Regions from separate parts of the Homo sapiens genome. Here region 2 is linked to region 1. The links are contacts of gene promoters, found by promoter capture Hi-C in blood cells and fetal thymus (Javierre and others, 2016). All regions are on one chromosome and are shown on one strand. The core of a region is centred on a gene start or on the middle of the fragment in contact, and the rest is flanking DNA. Distances in the headings are between cores, read along the strand shown. Region 1 holds the start of FAM98B (family with sequence similarity 98 member B). Region 2 overlaps AFG2B (AAA ATPase AFG2B).

Region 1 (7,361 bases), core at 3,118-5,617:
TGTGGCCCCAGCATATAGCGTTTCAGTGGGGGAGAAGCTGAAAGACTCTTGGTCTTTCAAGTCGTCTCCTCTCCTGTCACCCTAAAAGCCACTGAACTCTACAGGGATGAAGACTATTGAAGACTCCATTGCCAAACCATGACCTTTCCTCAGTGTTATAAAGCCTATGCCAAGGAAAAAGGAAGGGTATGCCTTTGGGTGCTCCAGGTACACACCTTTCCAAAATCTTTCTCCAGCCAGCTGCTGCAGACAAAAATAAGACATTTCTGGGAAGATGAGGACTTGTTTCCAGGCCAGTACCCCAGTGGCCATCAGGTCTTGTGGCCCAAAAGCTACGCTTGCCTCTAGCTAAGTGCCTGGCATGGGCCCTTTCTGTGTCTCCCCAAGGTTGGGTACTGAGCTCCCTTCTTCACCATCTAGCCATAGTCTCGAACCTATGGGGAAGGAGGTTTTCTCCCCACCCTGGAAGAGAACAGATTACTGATTTCTGTTCTTTTGACTCTGAAAATTCTCTTTCTTAAAAAAAAAAAAAAAAAGTAAGATTGTTATTCCTACCATCTCTAGCTTTAATTATTTTTATTTTCACAAATGCCTTAAGGTCAGATAGTAGGAGTTTTGGCCTCCTTTCTTACCAAAATAGCATCATTATCACTGCTCTCCCATTATCTTATAAATATCTCCTATTTCCTTGAGGCACAGGCCACTCAGATTTGCCACCCATTCACTTGTGGTTTTCATCTATTACCTCTTGGACACTCCCCAACATCCCCTTTGCTCAGTTTTCCTCTCCACCTCTATTCTTGCCATTACACTGAGTTTCTTTAATGTCTGTATGTATACCCTATCTCACACCCTGAGCTCTCAATTCCAACCTGCACATGTCACTCAGCCCCCCTTGCACCCTTGCCATTACTTACAACCACTGCACCTCCAAAATCACTTATCCAAACATGTGGCTCCCTGACCACAACCTCTTATTTATCCTTCCACTTGCTTCTTCGACCACTCACCTATAACTATTCTTTGATATCATCATTACCTCCATTCATTGATTCCTCTGCATTCTCCATATTTACCAACTCTCTCCTATCTTCACATTCTTCTGTATCCAATTTAGATTCTAAGGTGTATCATTTCATTTTGGTGCTCAATAAATACCAACTGAAGAAATTAATCTGTTGGGGCGTGGTGGCTCACACCTGTAATCCCAACACTTTGAGAAGCCAAGGCAGGAGATCATTTGAGGCCAGGAGTTCAAGACTAGCCCGGGTATCATAACAAGACCCTGTATCTAAAAAATTTTTTAAAATAAAGAGAAATGAATCCTTGAATTTTAATATCCAATCAATCACTAAGTTCAGTAATGTAGTTCTTCCCATATCCACTGCCACTAAGCAACCATCATTTCTTTCACAGACTATTAACTAAATTCTCCAATCTATTTTCCATCTTGCTGACAGATGTAACTTTCAAACTAGACATCTAACCACTCCCTTTTTATTTAAAATTATTCGATCACATCCCATTGCTGTTATGATCAAGAATAAAATCCACAACACAGACTAAAAGGGGCTGCATGCCCTGATTTTCACCTAACTCTTGAATCCAATTTCCCACCACTCTGCCCCTCACACTCTGCCTTCCAACCACATTAGCCTCCTTCCAGTTCTTCTAATACAGCAAGCTCCTTCACATTTCAAAGTCTTCACATTTTCTTCTCACTGTAAGGATATCTTTGTCCCCCTTTTTCATCCATCCAACCTTAACTACTTAATTTCTATTCACCCTTCTTATTTCAACTCAAATGTCACTTCCTCAGGAATCTATCACTAACCCCTAAGACTTCTTAGATCCTCCTGTTACATCACCCTGTTCTTTTCCTTTGACACATTTATTATAGTTTATAATTGTTTTTGTGATCATGTCTGTTTCTCCACTAGATTATAAACTCCACAAGGGTAGGAACCAAGTCTATTTTGCTCACCACTGACTCCTCAGAACGAGGTCCAATATACAGTGTGTTCAATAAATATTTAAAGGAAACTTCTCTCCATAGTAGTGTTTCTCAACTGAGTCTGTGAATCTTTTTAAAAATATGCAGGTCTGTACTGTACCTCTGAAGATTATGATTCGGTCAGTCTATGGTATATACTAGACTGGAACAGTTTTTCACAAGTTCCACACGACTCTGATGTACTTCCAGTGTTGAGATCTACTATTCCACAAAATCAGAGACTATCAGAACTGAAAGAGACTTCTAAAATCATCTGCTCCAGCCCTCTCTTTTCACAGATGAGAAAACTGACTGACTCCTAGCCTATCCTGTTTTCACCTGTATCACTAAATTGTCCTTTCACATAGATTTTTCCCTTCAAATGCCTCCCATTAATTTATTTTACATGACAAACTGAAGTACCTTTGCTGATATCCTCAATACCTTACAACAGAAAATGCATTATTCACTATCTACATGGATATTTGAAAACACAGTGTTCCATTACAACACATATTGTAAATAACTACTTTTTTCACATCGTATTATCATAGGAGAATTCAAACTTCAAAATGTTGCCCTCATAGTTATTCCAGGAAAAACTAATTTTGGAGTGTGTAAACTGTTTTACTTTCCATGTTGAATAATCTGACTAATTTTCCTTGATAAAAATCAAGATTATAGCAATGAATTTTCTAAAACACTTATAATATGAACAATAAGTTCAAGAAATGAAGAAAGAAGAAAAGCACTGCCTTTTCCTTTTTCATAAACCATTTATGAGTTCCCAATATTCTTACCTGAAGTACTTGGGAGCTCAAACTGTTTGGAGCCTAAATAATTCTACTAAGTATTTTCAGTTCTTGTTTTGGTTCCTTCTTAACCAAGTTAAGTGAGAACTTCCAAGGGACTTCACAGAAGTAAAAATGCCCCCTAAATAATCAATGGCACTGTTCTTTCGTTTGACAAATATGTATTCACGATCTACTAAGTGCAAGACTCCGTAACCCTGGGTCACTGCAAAGTAGGTATTATCAGGGTTCAACTAAAGAAACAATTGATAGAGGGGCAAATGCAGTTTTAGAGAAGATAAAGTGGGGTGTGGGATTGGTTCAAGCTTCATAATAACGCTGCAAAGGCACAGCTTCCCCTATCAAGAAACAGCAGCACGTAGCAGGGCAAACAAATGTGCAGATGGCTCCAAGCTCTTTATTTAATGTGCACTGTATGACTCAACTATCTGGTCCTATGCTTACTGCTGTGGACTCTTCTCTAAGCTTTTCTTCATTCATTTACTCATTCATTCAACCACTATTTACTGTAAAAGACTCCGTTCTAGTGTGTTGCTGGGAAAACATCGGTGAATAAAATATGCAAAGCATCAGTTTTCCAGGAGCTGACTTGGGGAGGAGGAGGAATAAAACGAGGGAGAAGCAGAGTTCAAGAGACAAATGAATGGGCAGGACATGATAATTTGGGATGGGGACAAGAGCTGTGTGGAAAAAAACAGGATGAGGTTGAGGGGGAGATTACGAACCACCACACTTGTTAAGTATTAACATTACTCCCACCTCCACCCTGAGTTCTCACAGCACTTACCATTCTGCACTGTAAATACCAGCCGGCAGCAGACTTGCAGCCTGCGCGACTATGTAAGCCAAGAGTAATCTGAAAAACTATCCTTTTCCCTTGCCTAGGGGAAATTTACAAACGTAAATATGTGTAAATTAATATACAAGCTAATATACACGTTGACGAACGGACGAAATGGTTGAAAGAACGAACTCGCAATGAACTACAACACTTTCTCCGGTCAAAGTAAAAGCCATTCGCTCCAGAGCCCCAAGTAAGCCACAAGTTGTACATTGTAGGAGACAACAGTCCTCAACAGCAGCTCAGGTTCCAGCACCTCCCTCCGGGCGCCAGAACTACGTCAACACAAATATCACCTGCGGGCGCGAGCTAGCCCAGAAAACCGGTGCTAGAAGGGCCGCTCCGCGCCACCCGGCGGATTCCTGCAACAGAGTTTCGAGGCAAGAAGTTTCGAAGAGGGGGCCACGAACCCCAGCTCTCCGGCCCTGCTCCACCCCCCAAATAGATTTCTCTCCCGCCTCCCGCTTAACTCCGTCGGCGCCGGAGGGATCGAGGCAGGGAAGGAGGCCTACACATGGCCGCCCAGGCCCACAGAGGCCCAAGGGAAGTAGGCTAAGCAGCCAGGCCAAGGAGAGGTTGCGTTTTCAGGGAAAAGGCGTCTCCAAAAGCACTCACCCCAGCGCCTCCAGTGTGTCCAGCACGTCTCCCTCCATCGTCGGTTGGGGACCCGGCTCCGGCCCTCTCATGGTCCTTTGGCCCAGAGCTGTTCGGCGCTCTAAGTAGCCCGCCGGAAACTAGCGTCACCGCGCCAAGGTTCCGGTCCGGGTCTGGCCGGTAACTGCCTGAGAGCACAGCTGAAGAAGGGCGCAAAGGTTCCCAGCCCCGAGGCAATAAACACTTCATAGTGCCTAAAACCGCTGCGTGTAACGATAATAATTTTTTAAAAGAATAGTAGAAATAATAAATAATAGTAATAAAGAGTTCTCTGTGTTGGGACTTTTCTGTGTGTTCAAATAAATTTTAGCAAATATCGTGGTATCGGGTTGATCTCAACCTATCCGATTCCAGACCTTTTTAATAACAGAAATCTGAAATAAAATTATAATTATCTTCAGCTAAAATTAGTAACTAATATCACATGCCTACACATATAATTTTTAAATCAATATACACGACGATGCTTCAACTTGAAGGAAAAAATGAAGTAATTTATAACAAGGTAATATTTTTCTCCTTATGAAATGCGGAAGACCAATGAAGTGATCAGATGCTTGCATCTATCTATGTAGAATCCCCTCAACTGCATATTCAGATGATGTGCTTCATTGCTGACAAAGCATTAGTTGTATAAGCAACAAACATACCGCCAGCAAAGTAAGGTAGTTGATGTGGTTTTCCAAAATTGTGGCGAATTCTCTGTAAAGTTCCAAACAAACAAAACATAATATACCCTCTGTGTACTATCCATGAAGAATTCAATCTCTTATCTAAAGGATTTAAAAAATGTATTTTAGGGTTCATATGTAAAAGGTACTAAGAGTATAAGGTTAGATCATTATTAGCAGGCATGTCACCTACATGAATACTCTAGCAGAACTGTTGGAAATCCTGCATGAAGTATAACTATTGATCCCTTGTATGGACCTGTCCCTTCCATTGCAGACTACATAGCATTCGTAGCCCCAGTCCAATAAAGACCAGTAATGCTCTCGCCTTCCTAATTATGGTTACAAACAAAAAGCATACCCATAAATGTGTAAAACACTCAAAGGTAAGCTGTAGTAGTCCACTCTCATATTGCTATAAAGATATACCTGAGACTGGGTAATTTATAAAGAAAAGGGGTTTAATTGGCTCATGGTTCCACAGGCTGTACACGAAGCATGATGCTGGCATCTGCTCCACTCCTGGGGAGGCCTCAGGAAATGGACAGTTGTGGCAGAAGGGGAAGGGGGAGTGCAGCTATCACGTGGCCGGAGTAAGAGGAAGAGAGAGGGTGCAGGGAGGCAGGGAGGTGCCACACACTTTTTTTTTTTTTTTCAGTCTCGCACTGTCGCCCAGGCTAGAGTGCAGTGGCATGATCTCAGCTCACTGCAAACTCCGCCTCCCGGGTTCACGCGATTCTCCTGCCTCAGCCTCCCGAGTAGCTGGGATTACAGGCGCCCACCACCACACCCGGCTAATTTTTGTATTTTTAGTAGAGACGGGGTTTCACCAGGTTGGTCAGGCTGGTCTCGAACTCCTGACCTCGTGATCTGCCACACACTTTTAAAAAACCAGATCTCATGATAAACTCACTCACTATACAGTGCCAAGGCAGGAATGGTGTCAAACCATTCAAGAGAACTCTGCCCTCATGATCCAATCACCTCCCACCAGGTCCCTCCTCCAACATTGGGGATTATAATTTAACATGAGATTTGGGCACAGACACAGATCCTAACCATATCATAAACTCAACCATACATTTGTATAATGACTATTATTACTGTATATTTTAGTGTTGTACAAGGCTTAAGCGTAAAATTACTTGCAGTTTAATGTATCTGAATTCATCTCCAAATAAGGGAGAGGAGAATGTATATTAGTGGTTACTGCCTCTTGTCAGAGTTGGGGTGTCATAGAAGGTACTAGTCTTAGTACTCTTGGCAAAAAGTCTCTGTAAAAATCAAATAGAAATGAGGTAACTGTTCTTTATTATTATTGATCTTAAGTGTTCTGCTGCTGGTTTTCCTAAAAAATCTAAATAAATGAATAACAAAAGTTATGCACAGAAAAAGAACTAAAAACAAACAAAAAAGCATGACTGGCCTAGCATGGTGGCTCGCATCTGTAATCCCAGCACTTTGGGAGGCTGAGGTGGGAGGATCACTTGAGTCCAGGAGTTTGAGACCAGCCTGGGCAGCAAAGTGAGACCATATCTCTACAACAAATTTAAAAATTAGTCAGGTATGGTGGTATGCACTTGTAGTCCTAGCTATTGAGGAAGCTAGGGCAGGACGATCAGGATTGCTTGAGCCCAGGAGGCCGAGGCTGCAGTGAGCTGTAATCAAGCCACTGCACTCCAGCCTGGGCAACAGAGTGAGACCCTATCTCAAAAGAAAAAAAAAAGCATGACAGATATTTGAAAAAACTGAAAAGGTCTAACATAGTAAATGGAATAATTGGACTCCAACAAGACCCTTGAAAAAATGAGACAGAAGCAAGAAGAGACTCTGCTAAAAATTTCCTGACAAAACACTGATCCAAGAGCACTGTTAATGTCAACCAGGACGTATACAAAGAAATTCACAATTTAGGAAAATTTTTGTAAAAATGCTGAAAACAAAAGATAGAAGGAAAAGCTTAAAAGCAGCTGGAGAAAAAAATCAAACTTTAACAATAATATAAGCTGACTTCTCAAAAGAAACAATGGAAGCAAGAAAATCATGAAACAACATCTTTCATATGCTTTAAATAATGACAAATCCAGAATTTTACACAGTGGAAATATCCTTAAGAAATGAAGGCAAAATAAAGATGTTTTCAGATAAACAAAACTCATGTAAATTGTTTCCAGCAGACCCATGTCAAAAGAAATATTAAAGAGGGTTCTTCGGGTTAAAAAAATGATGCCAGATGAAAAAAAAATGATGCCAGATGAAATCCCAATGGTGCAAAAAATAATGAAGAGTATCACTGGAAATGGTAAATATGTAAGTGAAACTAGATATATATTGACTATTCAAAACAGTAATAGTAATGACTTCTGAAATGTAAAATATAGAGAGAATTC
Region 2 (7,361 bases), core at 2,800-5,299, 7.0 Mb before region 1:
CTGAGGCAGAAGGACTGCTTGAGCCCAGGAGTTCAAGGGTGCAGTGAGCTGTGTTTGTGACACAATACTCCAGCCTGGGTGACAGAGCAAACATGTGTCAAAATAATTTTTTTAAATAGAGATGGGGAGTCTTACTTTGTTGCCCAGTCTGGTCTTGAACTCTTGGCCTCAAGAGATCCTCCTGTCTCGGCCTTCTAAAGTGCTAAGACTATAGGTTATACACTTTTTTCCCCCCGGACACGGTTTCTCTGTTGCCCAGGCTGTCGTGCAGTGGTGGGATCTTGGCTCACTGCAACCTCTGCCTCCCGGGTTCAAGTGATTCTCCTGCCTCAGCCTTCCGAGTAGCTGGGATTATGGGCACCTGCCAGCATGCCCAGCTAATTTTTGTATTTTTAGTAGAGACGGGGTTTCACCATGTTGGCCAGGCTGGTCTTGAACTCCTGACCTCAGGTGATCCACCCACCTCAACCTCCTAAAATGCTGAGATTATAGGTATGAGCCACTGCGCCCAGCCTTAGATTATAAACTTATTTTTTTTTAAATAGCGACAAGGGCTTGCTATGTTGCCCAGGCTGGTTTTGAACTCCTGAACTCAAGCAATCCTCCTCCCTTGGCCTCCCAAAGTGCTGGGATTATAGACATAAGCCACCACACCCAGCCTTAGGTTATAAACTCTTTAAAGCAAAAACAAAGAGAGGGTCGAGGTGGGAAATTATAAAAACCAGTTTAGACATCCACAGAAGTCCAATTAAATAAGGACTGAAAAGCAATCATTGGATTTAGATGTTAGGATCACATTAGTGATAGGAGCAAGAGCAGTTTCAGCGCAGTATGTTGTCATCATAAATGCACAGAATGTTAATCTGTAATATCCTACTGGATTAAGTAGATTATCTGTCTTACCTGTTTTAACTTCAGTTTTACATCTTCAAGGCCACCAATCTCCTCCCAGTCAACAGGCTTGATATCCATTAATCCAATGACGCTTCGAAACGATGAGGGCTGAATATTTTTAAAAGCTTCAAGGAAGTCTATTTCATCAATCACAGGATTGTCCTGGTTCTGAAGAAATACACCCAAAAAAGCAAAATCAAACCAAAAATTAGGTTGGTCTTTTTTTATAGCACAATTTGTTTTTAAAATCTTCTTTTGGATTTGTAAAGTTATTTTGTTATCATTATAAAAACAATTTATATACATAGTACAAAGAATTAAATGTCTCCCTGCCAATTCCTGCCAGTAATTCTTCCCCGAAAGATGTCAAGAGTTTGTGTATTTTTCCAGTATGTTATGCTAGTAAGCATACATATATCCTTTTAAACAGATACACAAATGGAACCATACTATATCAGCCTGTACTTTTCTTCTTTCACCTATCTTAGAGAGCTTTTCATGTCAACTAACACAGTTCTACGTCATTCTTTTTGACAATTCCATAATACACTACTGAATTTACCCCAACTACACCTTTCTGACAAACGTTAGGTCATCCCCAGTCTTTAGATATTAAAAACAAAGCTGCAACTGAAAAAGTCTTTGTGCTCATGTTCAAGTATTTGTTTATTTTGAGACAGGGTCTCACTCTGTTACCCAGGCTGGAATGCAGTGATGTTATCATAGCTCACTGCAGTCTCCCAGGCTCAAGTAATCCTTGCACCTCACCCTCCGGAGTAGCTAGAACTACAGGTATGTGCCACCAGCCTGGCTAATTAAAAAAATATATATATTTTTTTTTTGTAGAGATGCGGTCTCCCTATGTTGCCCAGGCTGGTCTGGAACTCATGGGCTCGAGCGATCCTCCCACCTCAGCCTCCCAAAGTGCTGGGATTACAGGCATGAGCCACCATGTTCAAACTCATGTTCAAGTATTTTATGTAATAATTTCCTCAAAGTAGAATTACTGGGTTTACAAGTACACACATATACAATTTTGACAGCTATTACCAAATTGTCCTCTAAGGAAGCTGCAACAATTTATTCTTCTCCGATAATATGAAGCTGTGTTCTCTCCACACCTCTCCAGTACAGACATTATCAAACTCTTTTTTTTTTTTTTTTTGGCGGGGTCTCACTCTGTCACCCAGGTTGGAGTGCAGTGCTGTGATCTTGGCTCCCTGCAGCCTCCGCCTCCTGGGTTCAAATGATTCTCGTGCCTCAGCCTACCGAGTAGCTGGGATTTATAGGCATGAGCCACCACACCTGACTAATTTTTGTATTTTTAGCAGAGACGGGGTTTCCCCATGTTGGCCAGGCTGGTCTTGAACTCCTGACCTCAACTGACCCACCCATCTCAGCCTCCCAAAGTGCTGGGATTATAGGTGTGAGCCACCGCACGTGGCCCATTTCCAAACTCTTAAATGTCTGCCAATATGACAGGAAGAACCAGTACTCATTCATTACTGTGTTAACTAAATTTCTTCAATTCAAAATGAGGTAGAGGGAATATTGGAATTAAAAAAATCGCCCGTCTTGCAATCATGATAGTAAAGGCTGTTATGAGCAAGAATTGGATGCTATGTTGAGGGGAGTAAAAGTTTATTCATTTATGAGACAGGGTCTTGCTCTGCTGCCCAGGCTGGAGTGCAGTGGCATTGAGGCAACAGCTCATTGAGCCTCGAACACCTGGGCTCAAGTGATCATTCTATCTCAGCCTCCTGAGCAGCTGGGACTACAGGTGTAAGCCACTGTGCCCAGCCTGAAAGTTTGATGAGGAGCAGGATATCTCAAAGTGTCTCCCCACAGATTTCTCATTAGTGGCAAAGGGAAAAATAGCAGTTCCACAGTGGAGAAACTGCGCACTGCCTGAACTAGTTGATAAAAGTTAGCATCACCAATGAGGAACCAATGTACACTCTGTGCCTCTACATGTGAGGCTCTAAGGACACAACACTATACATCACCATACTGTGGTGACATATGGGAACATTTCTGTTCTTAGGAAATAGACATTAAAATGTTAAGGGATAAAGTGTCATGATATATGCAACCCATTCTCTCAAATAGTCCAAAATAAATAAATACTATGTGCATATAAATACATATATATGGAGATGACAGAGAGAGAGAGAAAGAGAAGAGGAGAGGGAGCAAGGAGAGCAAAAGAGAATGATAAAGCTTATTTGGCAAAAAGTTAAAAATTGGTGAATTTGGATAAAGGGTTTAGTGGAAGTTCTTTGTAACTATCTTGCAACTTTCCTATAAGTTTTAATTATTTCAAAATAAAGACAATAATTTTAGAAGAAATCAAGGTTGAACATCTTTCATGTTTATTGTCATTCCTTTTATTGTCAACTACCTGTTCATACCCCATTACCCATTTTCTCTTGGACTGTTGGTCTTTTCTTACTGATTTGTAAGATTTGTTCATTCCCTATCAAGGAAATTGGACTAAAAGTATTTTTCCTAGTCTGACTACTTTATAGTATTGTTTTGCCACCCCCAAATGGTCAACTCAGCAAATAATCTCTTTTTTGGCTATTAAGGTTTATGTTATGCCTAGAGAAGTCGTCTTCACTCTCAGGTTATATTTTGGAGACTCTTTACATTCTCCTTGATCATTCTAGTGAAACACATTTTTTTTTGTTAGTTAAAAAGTCCTGAAAATTTTATTAAAAATATCTGTACTGTATTTATTAAAGTATTTGCCCTCTTATATCCAATTCTAAACATCTAGTTGTCCACAAATTCCCGTTTTCAAAAACAAACTGTCTTTTCTTATTTGTAAACAGATGTTAAGTGAATCTGTATGTATAGAGCTATTCTGTAAAGTATTCTCCCAAAAGTGTTAACAATTGTCATCTCTGGAAAGTGAGATTTCAGGTAGGCAGTTCTTTATAATTTTCTATCTTCATTTCTCATGAATAACCCTATTATATACTTAAAAAAAAGCCTTTTTAACTGGCTGATAGTATGTTAGGTGTCTGATGTCCAAATATTAACTAATCTTTAGGTAACACGAACTAATATTTGAAAATCTCATTTATAGTTCAAGATCATGTGTGTACACATTATTTTACTTGATTCTTTGGGCTTATACATTCTTTCCCCTCTGTGTGTGTCTGAGTGTTAAACTACAGTTCTAATCCTTTAATAGGAATACTTCACAAAAAGTTTAACAAAGTGTAAGGTATCCCTTATCTGCCCTGGTACAGGGAGAGGTAGCAGCAGCCCCTCAGCTGGTGGGGGAAAGAATAAAAGATGGAGCCAGTACCTTCCCAGTTGTCTGTCCCTTCATGCTTTTTGCCTTTCTTCCTTCCACTTCCCCTGGGTTGTTTCTGAACTCAGCCATCACCTGTGGTAACTACACCTGAGCAGGCCCCTCCTGAAGTAGCAGTGGGCTCCACCCTGGGACGACAGCAGCTGACTGGTCCACCTAAGTGAGAGGTGCTTATGGTCAAACCTGGAACTTCAAAGCAGAGGAAATCCTGAATGTAAATCTCCCTTCCCATCTCCTGCTTACTTATTGTCTCCCTCAAAAGACATCTATTCTCACATCTTTACACACAGAACTTTAAAACTTCAAGTAGTTTTGGTCTAAACCTACAAGATGAAGACTTAAAAGATCAACTAGAAGATCACATAACTCCTCCCCACCTTCGGTGTAACTGTAGAAATAAAGGAAAGGAAGTGAGGCAAGGTATAAATTATTTAGGTAAAAAGGTTTTTCAAAATTTAGGATAATAAATCATTCTTTTGCAGTTTAAGATGAAAAGACAATTTTGATGTTACAAATGAGATTGAAAACTCTGTTTCAGAATCCTTAGCCTGCTGAAATCAGTTTTTTCCTGAATGGGTTTAAGGATTCAGGACTATTTATTATATACAAAATACTGGATTTTACAACCAACAAAGTTGAAAAGTATTATATTTAATCTAATATCTTAAATATTGTTAGGAAATAGTCATGAATTACAGACCTGCAGATCAAGGACAAATTTAAATACAATTCCAAGTGCCCAATCTTCTCCTAGGTTAGAAAAGCTTATTTCTCCCACTAGATACTTATTAATAACAAAGGGAAAAACGGTATCTTGACAATGGAGAAATCTCACAGACACCACCTTAACCAAGAAATCAAAGTTAACTTCACCAGTGATAGAACAGAAACATATCATGTGCTGCCTAACAGATGCAATGAGAAAGACACAGGATCATTTCTATTATATTCCTGCCCAAAATGCAAAACCTGAATTGAATCATGAAGAAACATTAGTCAAACCCAAACTGACGAATATTCCACAGAATAACTGACTCTTAAAAAGTTATGTTTTCATAGAAGAAAGCCTGAAGTATGATTCTAGATTAAGGCCTATTTAGGTTAAGTACAAGTATTATGTCTGCGTTAATTTTCTCAGCTTGATCATCATACTGTGGTTAAGGTCCTTGTTTTTCAGAAATATACACTTACGTTTTCGCGGGTAAAGGGGCATCATGGATGTAGTATATGCTCAAATATTTCATTATATATATGTATATATATAAGGAAATACACATGAAGAGAGAATGATAAAGCAAATGTGGCAAATGTTACATTTGGAGAATCTAGGAGAAGGGTATATGGAAACTCTTTGTACTATTTTTGTAACTTCTAAGTCTGAAATTGCCTCAAAATAAAAAAATTCAAATTAAAAAAACTCTTTGATTCTTCTGGGGCCACACTATTTCTTGGCTGCTCTGGGCTTCAGCACTAGGGAGTTACTATAAGAGTAGGGAACAAATTCACTCAGTAGACCCAGAGGACTCAGCCCTTTATCCCCACCCTCAATCATATACTATTTATATAGAGTTGAGATGTAAAATGTATAAGCAACAGCTGTGGAAGCTATCAAATGTTCTAAGGAAAATGTACTCACCGCTTTTTTTTAACCCCCAAATTAATCTGTTACAATAATAGATTAACATAGATGTTCATAAATTAACACTTCTTACCTTCTCACTATGAAGGAGGGCATGCATGGCAGCCTCCCTACAGAGTGCTGTCAGGTCGGCACCAACATAGCCAACTGTCATTTCTGCAAGAAGGCCCAAATCAACATGACTGGAGATGGGCATCTTCGAGGTAATCACTTGCAGAATTTCCTTTCTTTGTTTAAGTGTGGGAGTCCCAATGACCACCTATATGCAAAGCAAAACAAAAAAAAGAAGAAGAAGTATATAGTTTAAAATATATTATTTTTAAAGTTGATCTCATGGATGGAGGTAGACAGCAGAATGATAGCAACCAGACACTGGGAAGGGTTGGGGGTGAGGGGATGAAGACAGGTTGGCTCATGGGTACAAACATACAGTTAGGTAGAAGGAATATGTGTAATGTTTGATAGTGTAGTAGGGTGACTATAGTTAACAATAATTTCTCGTATATTTCAAAATAGCTACTAGAGAGAATCTGAAATATTCCCAACACTCAGATAAGAAATGATAAATGTTTGAGGTGATGGATATCCTAAGCACCCTGATTTGATAATTACAAATTGTATGCATGTACCAAAATATCACATGTACCCCAAAACATGCACAATTATGTATCAATAAAAATAGATCAATTAAAAAAGAATTACTTCCAAAAAAATTTTATATATGTGTGTGTATACATATATATATTTTTTTTTTCTTTTTTTTTTTTTTTTGAGACACAGTTTCACTCTGCTGCCCAGTCTGGAGTGCAGCGGGCACCATCTCAGCTCACTGCAACCTCCACCTCCTGGTTCAAGTGATTCTGGTGCCTCAGCCTCCAGAGTAGCTAGAACTACAGGCATGTGCCACCATGCCCGGCTTATTTTTTGTATTTTTAGCAGAGACGGGGTTTCACCATCTTGGCCAGGCTGGTCTCGAACTCCTGACCTCAGGTGATCCACCCACCTCAGCCTCCCAAAGTATTGAGATTGCAGGCGTGAGCCACCGCGCCCGGCCAAAATAATAATATGTTTTTTATCCTGACAAACATGTACGACAATTTAGTGAACCACTTTGGAACTAGTACCGTGCACTTTACGTATACTTTAGATTCTGAATATACGAAAATCCTAATATTCCAGAGGAGTAACACTGGCTAGAAAGTTGCACAATGAAAATTCTATGTCATTTAACAAGTTTTTGTTATTTTTAAGAACACACAAAGTTCTAGAAGCCAGGTATAGATAGCTAGGTCCCTGCCCTTAAGGACACAGGTACTAGATAGTGCAAGGAAGAAATCCACTCAAGTCCTGAACTAACTGAGCTAAAAGTGTGTAATTATCATTTCTCTTTTGAATCCTATCACAAAATAGAAATATCAGTCACTAAATTTCAAACTGTTCTTTAGAATTCAAGTCAATTTAGGACCAAAGCTTAAAATAGGACAGCTCTGAATATTCAACCTCCCT

Evidence for each region. The method cuts DNA at HindIII sites, captures the fragments that hold promoters and counts their contacts. A CHiCAGO score of 5 or more calls a contact.
Region 2: a contact is called between a fragment that was not itself captured here and the fragment with the promoter of FAM98B in region 1, in 1 of 17 cell types (monocytes). The highest score is 7.4, in monocytes.

What each region holds. Positions count from the first base shown.
Region 1 is chr15:38,451,133-38,458,493 of GRCh38, reverse strand. It overlaps FAM98B (family with sequence similarity 98 member B), which reads right to left and starts at 4,367. Exons shown (of 8, transcript NM_173611.4): 1 at 4,262-4,367. The coding sequence starts at 4,332. RefSeq lists enhancers at 3,950-4,049, 4,110-4,219. The HindIII fragment of the contact is 3,660 bases long and covers 3,273-6,932 here.
Region 2 is chr15:45,404,073-45,411,433 of GRCh38, reverse strand. It overlaps AFG2B (AAA ATPase AFG2B), which reads right to left. Exons shown (of 8, transcript NM_024063.3): 2 at 5,929-6,114; 3 at 904-1,062. Among named protein-coding and RNA genes, the nearest start is that of AFG2B, 5.4 kb to the right of the region's middle. The HindIII fragment of the contact is 1,866 bases long and covers 3,117-4,982 here.